Regions from separate parts of the Homo sapiens genome. Here all the other regions are linked to region 3. The links are contacts of gene promoters, found by promoter capture Hi-C in blood cells and fetal thymus (Javierre and others, 2016). All regions are on one chromosome and are shown on one strand. The core of a region is centred on a gene start or on the middle of the fragment in contact, and the rest is flanking DNA. Distances in the headings are between cores, read along the strand shown. Region 1 overlaps BIRC3 (baculoviral IAP repeat containing 3). Region 2 overlaps DCUN1D5 (defective in cullin neddylation 1 domain containing 5). Region 3 holds the start of KBTBD3 (kelch repeat and BTB domain containing 3).

What was found. The method cuts DNA at HindIII sites, captures the fragments that hold promoters and counts their contacts. A CHiCAGO score of 5 or more calls a contact.
Region 1: a fragment that was not itself captured here is called in contact with the fragment with the promoter of KBTBD3 in region 3 in 1 of 17 cell types (naive CD8 T cells); the score reaches 6.3 in naive CD8 T cells.
Region 2: a fragment that was not itself captured here is called in contact with the fragment with the promoter of KBTBD3 in region 3 in 1 of 17 cell types (M0 macrophages); the score reaches 5.5 in M0 macrophages.

Annotation. Positions count from the first base shown.
Region 1 is chr11:102,319,154-102,323,413 of GRCh38, forward strand. It overlaps BIRC3 (baculoviral IAP repeat containing 3), which reads left to right. Exons shown (of 9, transcript NM_001165.5): 2 at 2,684-4,260. Among named protein-coding and RNA genes, the nearest start is that of BIRC3, 3.8 kb to the left of the region's middle. RefSeq lists enhancers at 503-582, 1,204-1,313. The HindIII fragment of the contact is 808 bases long and covers 1,019-1,826 here.
Region 2 is chr11:103,075,702-103,080,459 of GRCh38, forward strand. The region is part of intron 4 of DCUN1D5 (defective in cullin neddylation 1 domain containing 5); the gene reads right to left. Among named protein-coding and RNA genes, the nearest start is that of DCUN1D5, 14 kb to the right of the region's middle. The HindIII fragment of the contact is 1,326 bases long and covers 777-2,102 here.
Region 3 is chr11:106,075,072-106,079,677 of GRCh38, forward strand. It overlaps KBTBD3 (kelch repeat and BTB domain containing 3), which reads right to left and starts at 2,276. Exons shown (of 4, transcript NM_198439.3): 1 at 2,241-2,276; 2 at 1,436-1,636. It overlaps AASDHPPT (aminoadipate-semialdehyde dehydrogenase-phosphopantetheinyl transferase), which reads left to right and starts at 2,591. Exons shown (of 6, transcript NM_015423.3): 1 at 2,591-2,822; 2 at 4,396-4,606. The coding sequence starts at 2,640. RefSeq lists enhancers at 2,069-2,188, 2,199-2,308, 2,619-2,858. The HindIII fragment of the contact is 8,387 bases long and covers 1-4,046 here.

The DNA.
Region 1 (4,260 bases), core at 173-2,672, 3.8 Mb before region 3:
CTGCCTCAGCCTCCTGAGCAGCTGGGACTACAGGTGCATGCCACCACACCCGGCTAATTTTTTGTATTTTTTTTAGTAGAGACGGGGTTTCACCGTGTTAGCCAGGATGGTCTCAGTCTCCTGACCTCGTGATCCACTCGCCTCAGCCTCCTGAAGTGCTGGGATTACAGGCATGAGCCACCACACCCGGCCGAAAGAGAATTTTAAAAATTTCTTTCATTTGAAAGTTGAGATAGATTTAAGCATGGTTATGTGAAAGGAAAAAGGCCAGTCGAGAGTGACAGGAATGAGAGTTGAAGCAATGAGGGGATGGGATTAAGAACAAGATTTCTGAGGCAGTAGGACAGTGTAGGATCCCATAAGGGGGCAAGTCTTTAACTGAGACAGCAAGTAGGTTGTGAGCCAAAACGGCTTGGATATGAGAACGTGAGAAGGTTCCTGCTCAATGATGTCTCTTTTCTTTGAGAAACAGAAGGCAAAGTAATTGACTGAAAATGAGATGGAGTGCAGTGGAGAAATTTGAGGAAGGTGTTGAAGGTTTAGAAGAGGTGCATAGGGCATGGGCTAGGGAGCTGAGCCTATTGCTAAGGGATGGCAGAGGAGTCTTAAGTGATGCTGGTCCCAGTCTGCAGGGTTGCATCTAGGTGTTGGAAATGATTAGGACAGAGGTTGAAGTGATCTAGGGTTGACATCTTGGCATATTTGTGTATATTTATTGTATAGTTGTTGCCTAAATTTCCACAAATATATGCCTTGCTGGAGTGCAGTGGTGTGATCTTGGCTTACTGCAACCTTCACCTCCCGGGTTCAAGTGATTCTCCTGCTTCAGTCTCCTGAGTAGCTGGAAATACAGGTGCGTGCCACCACGCCCGATGGTTTTTTTTTTTGGATTTTTAGTAGAGACAGGGTTTCACCATGTTGGCCAGCCTGGTCTCGAACTCCTGATCTCAAGTTATCTGCTTTCCTTGGCCTCCCAAAGTGCTGGGATTACAGGCGTGAGCCACCACGCCTGACCTAAAGCTTCTTTAGGATAAGATTTGTGTAAGGGGTTTGCAAACTCAAATGGAGGTGATATAAATGAGAAAAACTCTCAGTGTCTCTCTTTCTCTCTCTCTCTCTTTTTTTGAGACAGGGTCTTGCTCTGTCACCCAGTTTGGAGTGCAGTTATGCAGTCTCACACTGCAAGCTCTGCCTCATGGGCTCAAGTGAACCTCCTGCCTCAGCCTCTCAAGTAGCTGGGACCACAGGCAGGTGCCACCATGTCTGGCTAATTTTTGAGTTTCTTTGTAGAGATGGTGTTTTGCCAAGTCACCCAGTTTGAGGCTGGTCTCAAACACCTGGGCTCAAGCAATCCATCTACCTCAGCCTCCCAAAGTGCTGGGATTACAGGAGTGAGCCATGGCATGAGGCCTTGTGGGGTGTCTCTTTTAAATGAAAGCATACTCTGTTTACGTATTTGATATGAAGGAATATCCTTCCTTTCCACAAAGACAAAAATTATCCTATTTTTCTCAAAACATATGTCCTTTTTCTCTACTTTTCATTTTTGTTACTTTTGATGGACACATGTGTTACATTGATTTCACTTTCTCATAATTCTGCTGTAAGAAAAACAATAGTGCCAGTTCAATGACAAATAGCAACAGTCTGTTATTGCTAGACTGTTACTGTTAGTGGAGACTACCAGAACAGTCAGTCCCAGTGTCAGGGAATCAAAGAGAACATGTTCCCTCTCTAAAGGGCACAGCTGCTGCTCAGCTTTAGCTGATTGCTGCCCTGCAGGACTATAGGCCCAGTGTTGCTAGATCTTTTGATGTTTCAAGAGAAGCTTGGAATCTAGAATGTGATGGGAAGTCTCTTACATTTAAACATGTTGGCAATTAATGGTAAGATTTAAAAATACTGTGGTCCAAGAAAAAAATGGATTTGGAAACTGGATTAAATTCAAATGAGGCATGCAGATTAATCTACAGCATGGTACAATGTGAATTTTCTGGTTTCTTTAATTGCACTGTAATTAGGTAAGATGTTAGCTTTGGGGAAGCTAAGTGCAGAGTATGCAGAAACTATTATTTTTGTAAGCTTTCTCTAAGTATAAATAAATTTCAAAATAAAAATAAAAACTTAGTAAAGAACTATAATGCAATTCTATGTAAGCCAAACATAATATGTCTTCCAGTTTGAAACCTCTGGGTTTTATTTTATTTTATTTTATTTTTGAGACAGAGTCTTGCTGTGTCACCCAGGCTGGAGTGTAGTGGCACTATTTCGGCCCACTGCAACCTCCACCTCCCAGGCTCACATGATTCTCCTGCCTCAGCCTCCGGAGTAGCTGGGATTACAGGCGCGTACCACCACACCCAGCTAATTTTTGTATTTTTAGTAGAGATGGGGTTTCACCATTTTGGCCAGGCTGGTTTTGAACTCCTGACCTCAAGTGATCCACTTGTCTTGGCCTCCCAAAATGCTGGGATTACAGGCGTGAGCCACTGCACCAGGCAGAGGCCTCTGTTTTTTATCTCTTTTTGGCCTCTACAGTGCCTAGTAAAGCACCTGATACATGGTAAACGATCAGTAATTACTAGTACTCTATTTTGGAGAAAATGATTTTTTAAAAAGTCATTGTGTTCCATCCATGAGTCGTTTGAGTTTTAAAACTGTCTTTTTGTTTGTTTTTGAACAGGTTTACAAAGGAGGAAAACGACTTCTTCTAGATTTTTTTTTCAGTTTCTTCTATAAATCAAAACATCTCAAAATGGAGACCTAAAATCCTTAAAGGGACTTAGTCTAATCTCGGGAGGTAGTTTTGTGCATGGGTAAACAAATTAAGTATTAACTGGTGTTTTACTATCCAAAGAATGCTAATTTTATAAACATGATCGAGTTATATAAGGTATACCATAATGAGTTTGATTTTGAATTTGATTTGTGGAAATAAAGGAAAAGTGATTCTAGCTGGGGCATATTGTTAAAGCATTTTTTTCAGAGTTGGCCAGGCAGTCTCCTACTGGCACATTCTCCCATTATGTAGAATAGAAATAGTACCTGTGTTTGGGAAAGATTTTAAAATGAGTGACAGTTATTTGGAACAAAGAGCTAATAATCAATCCACTGCAAATTAAAGAAACATGCAGATGAAAGTTTTGACACATTAAAATACTTCTACAGTGACAAAGAAAAATCAAGAACAAAGCTTTTTGATATGTGCAACAAATTTAGAGGAAGTAAAAAGATAAATGTGATGATTGGTCAAGAAATTATCCAGTTATTTACAAGGCCACTGATATTTTAAACGTCCAAAAGTTTGTTTAAATGGGCTGTTACCGCTGAGAATGATGAGGATGAGAATGATGGTTGAAGGTTACATTTTAGGAAATGAAGAAACTTAGAAAATTAATATAAAGACAGTGATGAATACAAAGAAGATTTTTATAACAATGTGTAAAATTTTTGGCCAGGGAAAGGAATATTGAAGTTAGATACAATTACTTACCTTTGAGGGAAATAATTGTTGGTAATGAGATGTGATGTTTCTCCTGCCACCTGGAAACAAAGCATTGAAGTCTGCAGTTGAAAAGCCCAACGTCTGTGAGATCCAGGAAACCATGCTTGCAAACCACTGGTAAAAAAAAAAAAAAAAAAAAAAAAAAGCCACAGTGACTTGCTTATTGGTCATTGCTAGTATTATCGACTCAGAACCTCTTTACTAATGGCTAGTAAATCATAATTGAGAAATTCTGAATTTTGACAAGGTCTCTGCTGTTGAAATGGTAAATTTATTATTTTTTTTGTCATGATAAATTCTGGTTCAAGGTATGCTATCCATGAAATAATTTCTGACCAAAACTAAATTGATGCAATTTGATTATCCATCTTAGCCTACAGATGGCATCTGGTAACTTTTGACTGTTTTAAAAAATAAATCCACTATCAGAGTAGATTTGATGTTGGCTTCAGAAACATTTAGAAAAACAAAAGTTCAAAAATGTTTTCAGGAGGTGATAAGTTGAATAACTCTACAATGTTAGTTCTTTGAGGGGGACAAAAAATTTAAAATCTTTGAAAGGTCTTATTTTACAGCCATATCTAAATTATCTTAAGAAAATTTTTAACAAAGGGAATGAAATATATATCATGATTCTGTTTTTCCAAAAGTAACCTGAATATAGCAATGAAGTTCAGTTTTGTTATTGGTAGTTTGGGCAGAGTCTCTTTTTGCAGCACCTGTTGTCTACCATAATTACAGAGGACATTTCCATG
Region 2 (4,758 bases), core at 190-2,689, 3.0 Mb before region 3:
GCATTTAAGCGTTTTACATGAGAAATGGTTTCTCCACACATTTAGTAGCCATATTGCCAGAAATGGAAATCAAAATTTGGATAAGTTAACCAGAATTCCTTATATATGAATGAATGCACAATATGCTTGATGAGGAAACAAGAAAAATTTATTCTTACTTATTAGAAATTCATTACCTACTATTTCACTAAGTGGTTTCTGTTAGTGCAAAAATTATTCATTATGTGAAAAATAATGCTTTAATGAAAGTTGACTTCTACCATGGGGATATGCAAAGCAAATTTCTCAGATTACATGCCACTATAATGTTTGAAAATATGGAGATGAAGTCTTCATAATGTGAGTCACATCTTTCATACAAAATCTCACACAGAATCTTAACAGGCTTGAGACTTAAGTGTTAAGGGGGCAAAGAAGATAAAGGATGCCTCCTGACATTCAAAGTTCTTTCTTTCCTTACCATCAGATTTAAAAAATCACTGTCATAGCATAACACAGGACCTGACATATAGCACTCCAAAAATATTTGTTAAATAAAAGTGTGACCACCAAAAATAAACCACAGGGTAGGTGATATATTTATTTAATTATATAATGTTTCAAAATTCCTATCTGGGAGAAACTTAGTGGTAAATGGTAGATCAAACAAAATCACAAAGCACATAGTGACTGAGAAGTCACTAAGGAGATAAGAATCCAAGATATTATAATATTTTCCAAATATTTTACATTTCATGGGTACACAAAGTTACTATCTTACTTATGTAATTTCAATAAGCTTAAGAAATAAAGTGAAGGGAAGAACAAATTTTCAAGTCAAACAGATTGGTTAAAATTCTAGCTTCTCTATTTCTGGTCATGTGGCTTTCAGCAAGTTACTAAACCGTTTTCAGCCTGTTTCCTCATTTTTAAAACGACGATAATAATTTAATAGGACAACTATATGGCAAGTTACTTAACCTTTTTCAGCCTCAGTTATCTGATTTTTAAAATGGTAACAATAATAATTTCATAGGACAACCATAAAGATTAAATGAGAATCCATGTGTTAAATGCTTAGCACAGTCCTTGATATGCTTCTTTTGAGGCAAATGGATTAAAAATCACCTACACTACACACCTTGGTAGAAACTACGTCATACCATTCCTAATGGTCTACTGTAAATCTTGAGCAGAGAAAGAATCCAACAGACTTTTTTGTAGTAAAAAAAGAATAGGCCAGCACGGTGGCTCACGCCTGTAATCCCAGTACTTTGGAAGGTCGAGGCGGGTGGATCACGAGGTCAGGAGATCAAGACCATCCCGGCTAACATGGTGAAACCCCGTCTCTACTAAAAATACAAAAAAAATTAGCTGGGTGTGGTGGCGGGTGCCTGTAGTCCCAGCTACTCAGGAGTCTGAAGCAGGGGAATGGCGTGAACCCGGGAGGCGGAGCTTGCAGTGAGCCGAGATCGCGCCACTGCACTCCAGCCTGGGAGACTGAGCAAGACGCCGTCTCAAATAAAAAAAAAAGAATAAGAGCACAAACCTCCATATTTATTAACAGTATCATGAAGACTGTGAACACATCTGGCAAAACCAACATACCGAAGCAGTTACTAACAGCAATACAATTTTTATATCGAATCTAGCTCCAAAATACTAACATCAATACCTCAGAAATTGGGAAGTTTAGAAAAAAGAATATTTCCTCCGAAATAAAAAGAAATGCATACTTAACTAGCGTACTATGGAAAGCAAGAGATAGTTTTCCAAATAACAACCAAATAAAACCACACAGATTTGAGGGAACACTGGCACAATACAATACACCATTCTCCAAGGCCACTGTAGTTAGAAAGAGAAGAAATGGGTATTAATTTCAACGTTAGGACTCGGAAATTAATTTCCTGGTATTGCTAAGCAACTGATTACAAAGGGAGGCTTTTGAACTTGTGTTTCATTAAAGACCTTTAAAGTGAGAAGAAAGTTTCATGCATGTATTAGATGTAAGTGAGGCTCTCTTCCTAATCCATAAGTCCCAGTGACTGTGCTGTGACACATTGATGTGTAACACGAAGAATTGTGTCACAAAGTTCTGGATTTAGAACTTCCTCTAAATAAGCTTTCTCAACCAGAACAATACCATCTACTTCTAGGGGTATTTGAAAATGTGCAGAGGGGCATTTTGAAATTGTCATAATGACCTTAAGAGAGAACAGAGGGAAAGGATGCTAATGGCAATTAGTAGTTGGGCCCCAAATGCTAAATGAATGACAGTCACATCACACACGATGGCATTTCATTTACTCTCCTCTTCCACCCCCACCAAAAAAAAAAATCATATAAATGTTCCCTATTCCCCTCTCGCTAAGACGGTCAAGCCATGCCATTCCTTTTACACTTCAAAGTCCGGGGCTCAATAGAGACTAGATTTACAAACTGCAACCTACCGGCAGGCAGCTTAATTACTATCACTGTTGTCAGATGCTCTTGTCTTGTCCTTTTCATTATCATAATCAAGTACGGTCCTCTTCAAAGGTCTATATTCAGTTTTCTCCACTGGTATAGTATTTCACCCTTGCTCCAACACCAGACTTTCAGCTAGCAGATATGAGAAAAGACCTCCACTCTAGTACACTATGCCAGAACAAAAACTCGCCAAGTATCCTTGAAACCTCGTATCTATAGACGAAGGAAGAGAAATTCCATAACCTCCTGAGAGCACATCAAATTTTTGTGTCTAGCAGTACATGTGCCTCTTAATGGGAACGAGGTCCATAGTTCTCATAAGACTCTCAAAAGAGACTGTGACTTTAAAATATTAAAAACAATTGCTCATTGAAAATTATCCCCCAAATCTTTTAAAATTCCTGTGCTTTAAAATCTCTGATGGTTTCCCAATATCTGTAACATAGATTTAAACTCTCTCAACGTATTAGCTAAAGCACTCTACAGTGAAGCCATCACTCAAAATATTAGAATTCAAAACCTATCCTGGCAATTTTTTTATGTACTTTACAATTTTAAGAAATCAAACTACTTCCTTCAAACATATGCTTTCCTTCCTCAAGGTCCTGCTCACAATTTCCCTCTTCTGAAACATTTTCCTGTATCCTCAACAAACAAAATCCTAATCATTCTTCATGTTCTAGTTCACAGGCCACACCTACATTTACCTACCTACTCAGCTGAAATTAACCTTACTCATCTGTGCTTTCATAGTATCTTGTATTTCCACTCTAGCACATGTCACGTTCTCCTTGGTTTATGGTTACAGCAAGGTGCCCAATGTCTGGGCTGAGCATAATTACCAGCCTGTGGCCTGTTAGAAACCAGGCTGTATAGCAGGAGGCAAGCGGCAGGCGAGTGAGCCAGCATATCCACCTCCTGTCAGAACAGCAGCGGCATTCGATTCTCACAGGAATGCGAACCCTATTGTGAACTGTGCGTGCGAGGGATCTAGGTTGCATGCGCCTTATGAGAATCTAATGCCTGATAATCTGAGGTGGAACAGTTTCATCCCAAAGCCATCCTTCCCTTCTCCCCAGCCCCATCCATGGTAAAACTGTCTTCTACGAAACTGATCCCTGGTGCCAAAAAGGTTGGCTGGGTTACAGTATTGTAATGTTTTCCCTGACCTAGTAGAATATGACTAAAGGACAAAAGCTGCATCTTATTCCTCGCTGTGATCACCAGTAAGTGATACTGTGCCTTACATAATATAGGTGTCTAATATAAATATCTACAAAATTAAATTAAAATTAATACTGGGCAAAGTGGCTTACGCCTGTAATTGCAACACTTTGGGAGGCCAAGGCTAGAGGATCACTTGAGCCCAGGAGTTTGAGACCAACCTGGGCAACATAGTGAGACAAGCTGGAGCATCACTTGAGCCCAGGAGTTTGAGACCAGCCTGGACAACATAGTGAGACCCTGTCTCTCAAAAAAAAAATAGCCAGGTGTGGTGGCATGTGCCTGTGGTCCCAATTACTTGAGAGGCTGAAGTGGGAGGATTACTTGAGCCCAGGAGATTAGGTTGCAGTGAGCCATGATTGTGTCACTGCTCTCCAGTCTGGGTAACAGAGCCAGACCCTGTCTCAAAAAAAAAAAAAAAAATTAACACCTTAGATTTGCAAGGAAATTTGGCTATTATTAAACAAAGATGAAAACTACATGGAAGAATAGATGTGAAAAGCATATGGCAATTTCATCCCCTGAAACTTACAAAATGGCTAGTCTAGGCCAGTTATATCCAGTTCATATACCCACAAATTCTTTCACACAAAAAGGAAAGCCAATTCAGTTATAGAAAGCCTATATGAATAGAAAACAAACGAATGTTAACAAAGTAGTCTGCAAACTATAAAGCATTACACAATATAGATGACTAATCATGATTATTACAGTCTACTATCCTTTAACACAGTGTATGTTTTAAACTACCAGACTGTTTCTATTTTTTAACAGACCAACATAGTTATAAAGAGTTTTATGGGTTAAAATTAATTAATTGAAACAACTCATGACTATATTAAGATGATTTAAGAGATCATTAGATGCCCAGGTGAAATCACAAAAGTATGAAAAATATCAGAGAGAACTGATAATAAAGTTTTATATTTTAAGATTATGTTTATTATATAGAACACAAAGTATACTAAGCAACAAATAATTTCTAAAGACACAGATTTTTTGTCTTCCTTGGTTTAAATTTCAAACTGTTTTATTCATAGCAAGTTTTTAATAAGAAAATTCAAGGAGTAATAAGACTTGGCC
Region 3 (4,606 bases), core at 1,026-3,525:
TGACCAATGTCACACAGACAATTGGTGGTAGAGCTGGAAATAGAATACGAGTCCCTCAGAATCCTGCTAAGAAGCCACAGATCAGCACCAAGCAAGATGATCATTACAGACTGAGTGAGCCCCTATTACTTTAGTCCTCTTCTTCCCCTGACCAATGCAGTAAAAAATATTTTAATAAAATTGTTGGGTTCATTTAATATAGTTAAGCAAGTTATGAACTGCATATTTATATTTCCTTAATAAAAGTGAGGGAAGTAAAGGCAGATAGAATATAAAAAGCAGTGTTACCCTTGACAGTAATAAATCTATTGTGGAGTCATTAATAACATTTACTCATGTATACTATTTGTAAAAGGTATACATGACATTCCCTCTCAAGTACTGTACATTCTATTTTGCAAGATAACACACATGAAAATAATTCAGGACAATAGGAGAGACGTCATAAGGCAATACTAGAATAACTGCCAAATGAATTACATAAACAATACTGTTTTGGAAAAAGGTACTCTGAAGTAGGCCCTAAGAGAAGGTTTAAGCTAAGCTCTGGAGAATTTGTAAAACCACACAGGGAAGGGGATTAAACAAACCTATAAAATATGTTCACAGGGTGATAGGTTTGGGGCTGAGGTTTGGAAGTGGAGAGAGTAAGCTATTTTAGACTAGGTGAACAGAGACATTCTGTTTGGTATGAGATTTGGGCCTGAATGATACAGAGGAAACAAGGAATGTGATAATGGGAGAAGGGGAGAATATTCTAGATTCTAGACCAAGTACAAATAATCCCTACGTTACTGTCTGTGTATTAGGCTCCATAGATCTAATACACAGAGATCTTGCTCGATGGTAAAATAATGGGATATGAATTCCTGAATTTAAACAAATTCTCTTTCTGAGCTCATTGTCTCCATCAGTAATAACTAGTGCACAGAACATGTGCAATAACGTACACAGAAGTGTTTTGGAAACAGAAACGTAATGTATCAAAGTTATAAAAATCAGTTTAAAACGACAAGAAGGAAAGGTTATATGATTCTTAGTTAAAAATGGAGAAGTGAGTTATGATCATTGCTGATATGGGTATTAGTATCACTTACGTATCTTTACACTGTCTCTTATTGTACTTTTTATGCGTATGATTTATTTGCCTTACCAGATTGTAAGCTCCCTGCAGCTGGTAAGCAGATTTTCAACATGGCAGCTGACACAGGCTTTTGGTTAGCTAAGATGATATATTAAGCCAATAATTCGTTTTACTGTCCTTTGGGGATCTGAATTTGTGTGTGTGTGTGCTCAGAATCCCATCTACTTTCGAGGGATTCGGGGGGCTTATGATATCACGAAAAGTTAATGAAGACAAGTATAGATAAAAACATAATAGAACCCATCTTAAATAGGACAGAAATCATAGGCAGGTAATTGTGTTAATTACTACCGCTGGCCTTTGGCTGATATTTCCGGGCAGTCAGAGGAAGAAGGAAATCGGCTGAATCCCGCAGTACCGCACTTTAATCGACCTCCAGGTAGTCATTTACAGTCATCTGCAGAGACCAACTTTTCCCTGGACCAAAACCTGCAGGGCACTTGGATCGCGTGGGCTTTCATACGAGAGTCAACAACAGCCTACACGGAACAACTAAGGAAACAGACATACATCAATATGACCCTTCGCAAAGTCTGAGAAAATAACTGAGCAAAGTTATTTACTTGTTTCTGTTGCTGTTAGAGCAAGGACCTCTGTCATGATGGAAACACTGATACCTCAACAATGGAATCCTGTTTTCTCGCTAGTGCTCTAGCCCAGGCTTGGCAATAGCAAAACAGCACCTGGGTCGCTTCATCGCCCCAAATAAACAGCCAGCATTAGCTCAGCTGCTCGCTGGCAGCCTCGGATCCAGGCGGGGTCAGTGTTGCGCACTGGGGATAGTGCCTCTGCTCGGCCTTCGGAGGGAGGGTTTCAGGTAGGCTGCTGCTAAGGGTCGGGAGCGTACTGTGTGAGGGTGGGTCTTAGGCTGATGCGGATGGGGGCAGGGAAAGAAGGAACTCAGGGCTGATGCGTTGCACAACTGCAGGGGGCACCACTGCAGACCCCCTCCTAGAGATGGAAACCTCTCGTGCCCCGTACACGAAGCAGCTGAAGCCAAGGACATTCTCTTCTCTGTGGGTCACAGGGGCCAACTCAGACCCTGAGAATAAGGGCTACCATCCCACTCCTCCCTCAGACCCCGGAGCTCACCCACCTGCAACTGCAGTCTCCGAAGTCTCCACCCCAGTCTCCCTGCCTCCAGAGGACTGGTTGCGATTGGCCTGCACCGCTGTCCCGTTAACTCTTCCGCAAGTGTGAGTGGCGTAACTGTCGGGCTCTTGGCCTTGGTCCCGCCCTTCGCTCGCCTCCGAAGCCTCGCCTACTTGACGTCATACAATGCCGCAAAGCGCAGGGCTGATCTCCGTCTCCGCCCCCAGCTGCTTTCTCCGAGAGGAGGTGGCTGAGTCGGGGGCGGGCTGGGAGGGCTGTCGGTGGGCCAGTCTGCGTAGCGACGGCCCGTCCCCTGCGCACGGACGCCGGGAAGAAGGGGGTGGGGCCACGTTTGCGTCCGCGCCATCAGGCCCGAGATAGCGGCGAGGTCCGCTTTCAGTGTATGGTTTTCCCTGCCAAACGGTTCTGCTTGGTGCCATCCATGGAGGGCGTGCGCTGGGCCTTTTCCTGCGGCACTTGGCTGCCGAGCCGAGCCGAATGGCTGCTGGCAGTGCGATCGATTCAGCCCGAGGAGAAGGAGCGCATTGGCCAGTTCGTCTTTGCCCGGGACGCTAAGGCAGCCATGGTACTACAGGTCTTTTTTGGTATTTAGAGCCTAGGAAGCAGATCTTGGGGGAGGCGGGCCGGGCTGTGGAGACCCGACACTCCCGCGCTGGCCGCGACCCTCTCGCTGTGGAGCCTGTGGCCGGCCCGGGCGACAGCAGCCGGCGCTGCGGAGTTGTGGGCGACGCACGGCCTGGTTTCCACGGCCTTTGTAACCGCCTTGGAGGCCGCGATGGCTGTAAACATTATCTCTTTCCCCTTGTTATTTCAAATGGAGACCCTCCTAAACCATGAAATAAGTGTAGGGAAGGCCGACAAAATTGGGTTTTTCTGTAATGAATGTTTTTATGTCTTTATCTTTAAATGTTATTTTTTTTTGTTTGTGTGCGTTCATAGCCTATGCTTATTCTGCCTGTTAAATATCCCATCATTCTCCAAGGACTCCCTGCACGTGGTAGGCCCTAGAAATTATTGACAGTATGATTTAGTTTGTAGCCCTGCGCTCCCCGGGATTGAAGCCAATGAAATTGAAGCCAGAGAGGATACCTTCCTCACTAGATGCCATGGGAAACAGTATTTTACGTAGATTTATTTATTTTAGCTATGTATTTTGAAGCAACAAATGGAAAACTGGATTTCAAAACAAGTAATCTGTACAATATGGTGCAATTTGAAACAACCGTGAATTACCATCATTTAAAAGACAGTCCTTTCTTAAAAATGTCCCATATTGAAACACTTTCTGTTTGAAATGTAGACTAGTTGATAATTTTTAAGGCACATTGGTGAAAATTTTTTACTCATTTGTAAGGAATTGTAAAATAAGCTACATTTAAAAGCCTGCAGTTTTTAAAAGTCAGTGTTAGAATTGAAGAAGAAAAAAACCTGAAAGATATTTTTAAAAATATATACTTTGTCATCTTATATTCTTGTTTTTTTGTGTGTGTGTTTTTAGTAATTATTTAAAAAATAATAATTGGAGGTGGGAGAGAGCAGAACAAGATAGGTCATGCCTTGCTAATTGTTGAAGCTGGGTGATCAATATATGGGATCTAGAAATACATATGCACAGATGTAGGTACAGTAGGGTTGCTCACTGCAGAGTTGTTTTTGACAGCAAGTCTAGAGCCAGCCTAAAATGTCCAATAAAGGGGAAATAATATTATGAAATATGCTACAGTTAAAACTGCATGGACCAGACGTGTGTGTACAGACATAAAATACTTCCCAATACTTATAAATTTAAAGCTTATATGTGGTAGAATACTGCATAAGTATAATCTCATGTTTGTGTTTATATGTAGAGTTAGCAAAAACATGTAAATGCACATATATTTAAATACAGAAAAGACTGACAGGATGCCAGCTGTTAACTTTGGTCACTAGCAAAGGAGAGGGAATTGCTAAGGCGGGCTTTAACTTTTTATCTACTTAAGCATTGCTTAAGTCTTAATTAACGTGTGTTTAATACTTAAGTATTTTGAAAAGTTTTAAAAATGAAAATTTTAGAAACCAAAAAAAAGTACTATTGCATACAGTGTGCTTGTATCTTTAGTAGACATCAGTACATACCAAATGTTTTATGTACTTAACAGGCTGGTCGTCTGATGATAAGGAAATTAGTTGCAGAGAAATTGAATATCCCTTGGAATCATATTCGTTTGCAAAGAACTGCAAAAGGAAAACCAGTTCTTGCAAAGGACTCATCGAATCCTTACCCGAATTTCAACTTTAACATCTCTCATCAAGGAGACTATGCAGTGCTTGCTGCTGAACCTGAGCTGCAAGTTGGAATTGATATAATGA